Regions from separate parts of the Homo sapiens genome. Here all the other regions are linked to region 3. Evidence: promoter capture Hi-C in 16 types of primary human blood cells and fetal thymus (Javierre and others, 2016). All regions are on one chromosome and are shown on one strand. Each heading gives the region's core, a stretch centred on a gene start or on the middle of the fragment in contact. The rest is flanking DNA. Distances are from core to core; before and after follow the strand shown.

What was found. Contacts are between HindIII fragments. The CHiCAGO score rates a contact against its expected background, and 5 or more counts as called.
Region 1: a fragment that was not itself captured here is called in contact with the fragment with the promoter of KLHL32 in region 3 in 8 of 17 cell types (total B cells, total CD4 T cells, naive CD8 T cells and 5 more); the score reaches 14.7 in total B cells.
Region 2: a contact is called between a fragment that was not itself captured here and the fragment with the promoter of KLHL32 in region 3, in 8 of 17 cell types (total CD4 T cells, non-activated CD4 T cells, naive CD8 T cells and 5 more). The highest score is 10.8, in total CD4 T cells.

Annotation. Positions count from the first base shown.
Region 1 is chr6:95,588,833-95,591,532 of GRCh38, forward strand. All of the region lies in intron 2 of MANEA (mannosidase endo-alpha), which reads left to right. Among named protein-coding and RNA genes, the nearest start is that of MANEA, 13 kb to the left of the region's middle. The HindIII fragment of the contact is 295 bases long and covers 1,213-1,507 here.
Region 2 is chr6:95,561,705-95,564,404 of GRCh38, forward strand. The region is part of intron 2 of MANEA-DT (MANEA divergent transcript); the gene reads right to left. Among named protein-coding and RNA genes, the nearest start is that of MANEA-DT, 14 kb to the right of the region's middle. RefSeq lists a silencer at 789-1,083. The HindIII fragment of the contact is 1,164 bases long and covers 852-2,015 here.
Region 3 is chr6:96,923,324-96,926,023 of GRCh38, forward strand. It overlaps KLHL32 (kelch like family member 32), which reads left to right and starts at 1,405. Exons shown (of 11, transcript NM_052904.4): 1 at 1,405-1,703. RefSeq lists a silencer at 1,132-1,441. The HindIII fragment of the contact is 7,655 bases long and covers 1-2,700 here.

The DNA of each region.
Region 1 (2,700 bases), core at 110-2,609, 1.3 Mb before region 3:
AATAGAAATATATGTGTTACACTATTTTTGGTATAGTTTGTGATCAGGAAGAAAAGTTTCAGTAAACATTTTTATGCCTATTCATATTTATAAAGACCTTTTTCCCTGTATAATATTTTAGTATTGTATCATGTATATGAACATTAATTATTTCTAAACATTGACAGTAATACAGTCATTTCAATTTTAAATGTTGACAGCTTCACTACGGATGCAAATATTTTACTTTTTGATGGATTTTCTCCTAGACAAAATTAAAAAATAAACTTGATAATAAAAGTGACATAATCAATTTATAAATAAAGAAATAATTTCTTAATGAGTTAAATATTGAATTATACTCATTGTTACCAGGCAGAAAATAATTTGACTGTTGGAATACTGACTCAAAACCCTAATTTAATCCATGGAGCTGGCATGCTGACTCAGGCATTCTTTGGATTGAAGAAGATAGTAAATGAAGGCTGTTTAAATTGTTGTATGGTTGACTGTGCTTTGACTACATATTTAACATTCATATTTTTCCTTTGATATAAATGGCCTTCTTTTTATCTTAAGTTGAATTGCTGTGTGAAGTAATTATGCTGTTATATCGCAGAGTACAAGTTGGTTGATTTTCTGCTTTTACAATTAAGTGTGGTTGGCATAAATCCTAATGGCTCAACCCTTCATTGAAAAGAATGATAAAATTAAAATGAACTATTAATGTTATGTTTAAAATCCAATTATTATATATAATGTATCAGATATATTACAATGGCATATGGTAGATTTGTATCCTTTTCAAGTCTTTTAAGTAAAATATTACGTATCATGTATTCTATCCTCTTGTATTGCTGTATTACAACTCTAAAAGTAACAGATGAATGCCTTCTTTTTTTTATACAGTTTACTAAAACTTTAGTAGACTGGTCAGAAAATAGCCCCCATTTTCTGATGTGGACATCGTAATTCCCACAATCTGTGAATATATTATTTTATTTGGCAAAAGGGGAATTAGGGTTGCAGGTGCAAAAGATTGCTAATCATCTGAACTTGAGATGGCATTATCCTTCATTATTTGGGTACAGCTAATCTAGTCACATAAGTCCTTATAAATAGAAGAAGAGGGAAAAGAGAGTCAGAGGGATGCACGAGAGACTCGACCCCCTGTTGCTATCTTTGAAGATGGAACAAGAAGTTCATGAGCCAAAGAATGTGGTAGCCTCTACAAGCTTGAATGGCAAGGAAAGGGATTCTTTCCTAGAGCCTCCAGAAAGGAATGTCATCCAGTCCAATACCTGGCCTTGATCTTAGCATATTAAGACCCATGTCAACACTCCTGACATGCAAAACTGTAAGGTAATAAATTTACGTTGTTTTAAGCAACTAAATTTGTGATAGTTTGTTATGGCAAAATAGAGAACTGCTACATTTAGCAAAACATAATGTACTCTATGACTTTAAAATTATCTTCCCATTGTTTCAGTTTAGCACTAAATATTTATTGATTTTCCATGACGTTCCAAGCTTGTGCTAGATTCTAGGGACATAAAAATGAGCAAGTCACATTTCCCAGTTCCTTTGTTTTCATCATTGTTGCTTTAAAAACACTGGATGGATTTCAACATTAGAATATTTCCTGAAAGTATGACATATTTGTTTTAGTAAGGTTACAATTCTTACTTCTGCATCTCCTGCCTTTAAAAATTTATACATAAAAGTAGAAGTCACAATGAGATGAATTAGACACATAAAGTTTAAATGTACCTAATAACATCTAATATGATGTCATAAAATTTCCTTTTATAATAACTATTTGCATTAAGTTTAAAGGTTATATTTATAACTGTAGAGTGGTGATATTCCATAAAGCTTTCATATTGCTATAGATGCCCAACCTTTGGCTACAAAAAAAATTTGAAAGTATTCATTGCAAGGAGACAGTCTACTTGCAAATAATATATACTTAATGTGTAATGTAAGGTCTTCACCACTGATATTCCCTATGTTTCCCTCCCATAGTTTGCTATTGTCGTAATTCTGTCACATAAGAAATGGTATTTTACTATCATTGCTGTAGGCCAGAGGTTGGCAAGCATTTTCTGTAAAGGACTGCCTAATATATATTTTTGATTTTGTGAGTCCCTCACTCTCTCTCTTTGCAACCACTCAGCTCTATCCTTATAGTGTGAAAATGGTTATAAGCAATAGATAGACAAATATATAGATGAATTGGCCTGTAAAAGGCAAGATTTGGCCGATGGGTCATAGTTTGCTGATCACTCTTTTCAATAATCAGTTGTTTTTCACAGTGATTAAAAGTAAGAATGTTTTTTACATTTATTCCATTTCTACTGTTCCCCATCCATATTTTAATGTAGATCCAAGTGTATGTCTAATATCATATTCTTTCTCTCTTAAAAATTTCTTTTATCTTGTTTTACTGGTCTCCTTGCAATGAATATTTTCAAATTTTGTTTGTAGCCTTTATTTTGAAAGATGTTTCATCACCTATGGAATTCTCAATGGGCAGGTTTTAGGGGATTGTTTTCTTTTGGAATTTTGAAAATGTATTCCATTTCTTTTTTTCTTCTTTTTCTTCAGTCTTTCATGGTTTCTGATGAGTAGTCTGCCGTAATTTAAAAAAATCTTTTTATATCCTCATTTTCTTGGATGGATATGTTTTGTTGTTGCTGTTGTTGTTTTCTGGCTGCATTT
Region 2 (2,700 bases), core at 184-2,683, 1.4 Mb before region 3:
CTGTTAGCCCACCACCAGACCAGAGAAGCATAACAAAGTATATTCCTATGGGTAGTTTCCTGTCTAGCCACTCATACAGTCTGACGTCCATAGTCGCTTGCTTTGACAGGTGGTGGGGAATGAAGTCTCACGTATAATATGCATCTTCAGCCCAAATCCCATAAAATTAAGGAATATTAAAGAGTGTTTTGTAGAATTTGAACTCAGTATTTTGTTCATCACTTCATCTTATATTTTTGCTGTAAGAGTCCTTGTGAATTTTTTTGACAGTATAATACAGGCACGTTTAAAAAATTTTTGTTTCTCAAGGAAGATTTTTTGAGAACAATCTTTAGACAGTTTTGTTCTGCTACTGTTATTAGAAAAATCAATTCCTTTTTGTATTTTTATCTTTGTTTCTCCTTCTTGAATGAAGAGGGGTCATTTATGGCCTGGTATTTGTCCAAACAGCACATGGGAGAAAACCTTTTCGATGTCTTCATTGCACCCCTGAAATATATTTCAGGTGTACTACACATTACACATTGCACGCACACACACACACACACATATGCGTATGTATGTATATACATACAATATGCCAAGTATATTTTTGGAACATCTCTCTAACGTTTTAAACTGGAAAGGCAATTAGTGTAAGTTTTAATAATCCAGCATTCTAAAAAGAATTAAAAGGAGGGTATGGCATGAGCAGATTTAGTGGAACAATTTAATCTGTGTATGATTTCCTCTCTGTCATTTATAAGGTTACTGTACTAGGGACCAGTTCTCTGTATCTCCTTTTCCATTTGGCCCAGCCTTCAGTCTAGGAATATCATGGTATCCAATTGCCTTTTCAAGGTTAGTGCCCAAGCTTTAGGAAGAATCGGTAGATCAGAGAAAAGTTACCACATGCTGATTTCCTTTTTGAGTAGCTTACTTTCTTGTACATCTCCCAGTGCAGATAATTCCAAAAGCTGCTTATCAGAGAAAGTAAGGGTCTGGCTTGCTCTAGGCTGTGTTTGCCATTGCCTTCATTCCTCCCTACTGAAAATTATGAAGTGCCAGAATTTCTTGTATTTACTTTCTGAAATGTCACACTACTCTTCGGAAGAAGCAATGCATCTTCCTTGATTTGTTTTAAAGTAAATTACTTCAAGTTCAAAGTAGACTGATTAGCCATGGCTCCTACACCATGTAGGCTCACTATTTTCATGTTCCTTTAGACATTTTAGCCTTTAATTACCAGGTAATTAAGAGCATTAGGTAGTCAAAGTGTTTAGGTATACCAGTGTTTAATACATTTATTTGTCTGGAAGTCATTGTCAACAGCTTCTTCTTCTCAAACATTAATTCTTATTAATTTTTAACTGCCTGGAGTCCTTTTTTTTGGCCTAGAATCGTTAATGGAGTTTTTACTCACTTGATTTCAGGTGTACTGTGCTTTCAGCTAAAAATTGATATAGGTATTTCCAAATGTTTCATCGTTACCTGTCTTCTCTTTTCATCTATATTTTCTATATCCAATTTCATCTAGTCTTATGGCTTCAATTCTCTCTACTTTGTGGATGGCTCTCAGATCTCACTCTCTACTTTTGTACTTCCCATAAGCTCTGGTTTACCCATGCAGATGATTTCCTGCTCCTGCTTGAATATTCTGGTAATGCCTTTAGTCAAAGCAATATGCCCAATACTGAGAGCATCATCTTCTACCTTCCCAAATGTCTCTACCTGTTCATTCAGATGTTCATTTGTTCATTTATTCATTGTTGTATTTATCAAATACCTCCTTTGTATCAGGTCCTTTTGCTGGGGGTAATCAGTGAAAGAGGTAGATAAGGTGATTCTCCCGCAGAAGTTTGCACACAATTAAGAGACACACATGCATATAAGTAAGCAGACAAATACCATGCAACATGATAAGGCCAAGATATAATGAGTTTGGGACAGGATGAAAGAACAAAATGGGGAACCTAGTCTTAACTTGGGTGTCAGAAAAATTTCTTAAAAGGAGTAATGTCTAAGTTGAGCACTAAAGCTTGAATGGTAATTAGCCATGTAAAGGGGAGAAGGAGAGAACAGTAGTGTGGGTGTAAGAACAAACATGGCACACAAATAAGTCTAGAAACAGAAAATTGTTCATGACAGCTAAAGTGAAGGGAGTATGGAGTAGTGAGTTTTGAGAGTGAAAGGGCTCACCAGCCAAATCCATAAGGGTTCTATATGTTGTGTTATAGAATTTGGACTTTATCCTGAGAGACAGAGAAAGTACTGGAAGGTTATAAGGACAGGAATCACATGATCAATTTGATTTTTAGAAAGATCATTCTGACTGCAGTGTGGAGGTCGTATTGAAAGGCCAAAGGCAGGTGAAAGATCAATCAGAATGAGAGATCTTAAATGAAAGATAATAAAACATTTCATTGGAGTGGTGATATTAGAAATAGAGAAAAGTTAAATAGGGAAAGAAATAGAGAAAAGTTAAATATATTTTGAAAGATTTGTATTTTCTCTGAGGGGAAAAAAGAGGCCAAAAATTATGGCTTGATCTATAAGATCTATAATGATGTCTTGATCTATAAGATGTATAAGGATACTTTCCACTGAGATATGGACCAGAAGAGCACAAAGTGGTTATTGAAGGCATGAAAATGAAAAGAGACTTCCAACAGTGAGTATGTGTCATATGAGAGAGCGCCTAGACAGAAGAGAGTCTATTTA
Region 3 (2,700 bases), core at 155-2,654:
CTTTCATATTCGATTTTCTGATAGAAGACAACGCAATGAAAACTATCAAGTTGCTTATGAAAAATTCTTAGGATGACACTGCACCTAATGTTTGTAGTCAGTTGTTTGTCATTCTTTCCCTTGTCCTATGCTGTGTCCAGGACTGCTAGATAAGTAGGTACCCAGCATCCTAGCGTCCAGATATCAAAACCATGAAAATGAAGCACTACAAGCCAGACAGATAACCTCCAGAGGGAGCAAACGAATAAACCCCCAAATCCTGTGGATCTAGAAGTAGAAAATAATCGCTGAACCACTGATTTGAGACCAATGAGAACATTAAGGACACCTCAAAATAGATCAGGGCACTGTTCCTAGCCCAACTCTGTGGCAGAACATAAACCTGCAAGAAATAGGATTAACATACTATCTTTGCAGTAAGTTAAATCCTGAACTTCTACAAAATACAGTTTACTCCAATTTAGTTACACTCTTCCTGCTTCTGGTGTCTTACCTCCACGTTGGACTAAGGTTTTCAATTCGGTGGTGGAATACTTACCTATTAAAATTACCCACTTTGCTTTAGTGTGAGTTTCTCAGCATGTTTTACACAGGAGTGACCTGAATGACTCGGAAGTGGCACTTGAGTGTGCCAGGCCCTGGAATTTAATGGTATGGTTCTGTGGTTGTTGTCTGTTTGCGGTTTTATTGCTGAATTAGTAGTAACCACAGTAATCACACCCTTTCTCATTTCTCAGGCTTGGGGATTTCGTCCACCTCTGGCGGGTTGGTTCCCCTGACGTTTCTTAAAGTTACTGTGAATTTGTTCTGGTCAGTACCATAGAGTGTATTATCCTAAGGAGGGCCACTGTAGGGCCGCTAGGACTAGAGGCAACTTGAACTTCACAAGTTAGCAGAGCAAGGACTCCCTGGAACACCGAGTTAGGGCCACGGGGTCTGTTTGCTCAGATTGCCCGCCAGCCCTGGGAAAGGAGTCTGGGGGCGAGCAGGCTGGGTTCCCGGGTCTCAGTCGCCGCAGTGGTGGCTACAGACTGCGCATGTGACCCAGGGGCCGGCGACGCAGGTGCCGGAGAGCGAGGAGGAGGGCGGCGTGGAGGAGGGTACTTCCGGGACCGGCGGGCGCGCGCTGGCAGCTCGCCGACGGCGGGGGCGGGGGCGGGGGGCGGCAGGGGAGCGAGCGCGCTGGCGGCGGGCGGTGGCGTTGCGCGCGGGGTGGCGAAAGGATGTGCGCGGGATCGCGGGGGAGGGGGAGGGAGCGCGCGGGCTAGCTGGAGGCGGGAGGGGGCGGAGCCCTGTGGCGTCTGAACCCGCCCCGGGGGTGCCAAGGTGCGTCTCCAGTCTGACGCGACCGCCTGGGGCGGAGTCAGCGGGACGTGCCACCTGCAGTGCTGGCTAGGGCTTTTTATTTACTAGGGAGCAGTTTCCCCGCGCGACAGTTCGGGAGCGCGCAGGCAGTCGCGCGCACACACGCACGCAGGCACACACACACACACACACACACACACACACACACTTTCGCACACACAAACACGCTAGGACGCTCGTCTTCGCTACTGCATCCCCGAACCAGCAGAGCGAAGCTACTGCGGGTTCTGTTAACCTCAGCATCGTGGGGCGAAGCAGAGCCATTGTGCATCAAGGAGAGGCCGGTGCCTGCGCTGCCGTCTCTGGCACCTAACCCAGCAGACCGCTCACCCCATCGGGTAAGCCAGTCTCTCTCCTTGTAACCTGTTCTGCAGACCTGAGGAAGAGGGTGGGAGGCTGCTGGTGCGCCAAGTGGGGGCAGACCCGGAGTTGACATTTCAGGGGCTTGCAGCCCATGCAGCCTCTGCCCGTGTCGTCTAACGGGAGCAGCCACTACTCAGGTTACTTATGCTGCCAGCCCTGGAGTCGCTCCCCCTTTCTTCCCTCCCCCTGAGCCCAATATGTACTGTGCTCCTTGGTTGCCAAGGAGACTTGCTTAAACATCAGCCGTGGGACATCTATTGAAAGAACTGGTTTCTTAAATGATGCCGTTATTTATTTTGATATTTAAAATAAAATATACACTGAGGACCTTTCGTAATTTGGCATTTGTTAATCTGTATTCAGGTGGCGGTTTCATTCAACTTCAAGAAAAGCCGTAATTGCACTATATGGTATGCTTTAAAAAGGATTCGTCAGATGAATTTTTCAACGGATTGTGTCTTGAATCATAATTTACTCCCATTTTGGTGATCTTATAAAGAAAGATGACTGCAGTTTAGATCCCTTCTTCCCCTCTATTTCCAGTTTTATTTTGCAGTTCACTTAGTCGTGATTATTTTAAATTAAAAGCAGATGATTTAATTGTGTTTCCCCACACAAGAATGAGCTTCTATTGTAAATTGACCAGAACAGGAATACGTTTGTGAATTCGTAACGTAAGAAGGTAGCATTCATGACATACATCTTTGCTAGCATTTTTATATCCCCTGCATCAGTATTGAAGCGCAGTTTTTTGCACCTCTGCTCATTTCTGAGAAGATTCTGTTTTTTAAAAAATCTCTTATTGATTATTTTTAGATCTATCTCTATACACAGATAGAGATAGATATAAAATGTGTGCCATGGCTTACTAGAGCTTATATGAAAGTGCAGTGGTTTTTGCTTTTTGTTTTTTTTCTGATGGGACTGGGTCCTCTACTGGAACACTGATAGGCCAATGGAACAGGTCAGCCT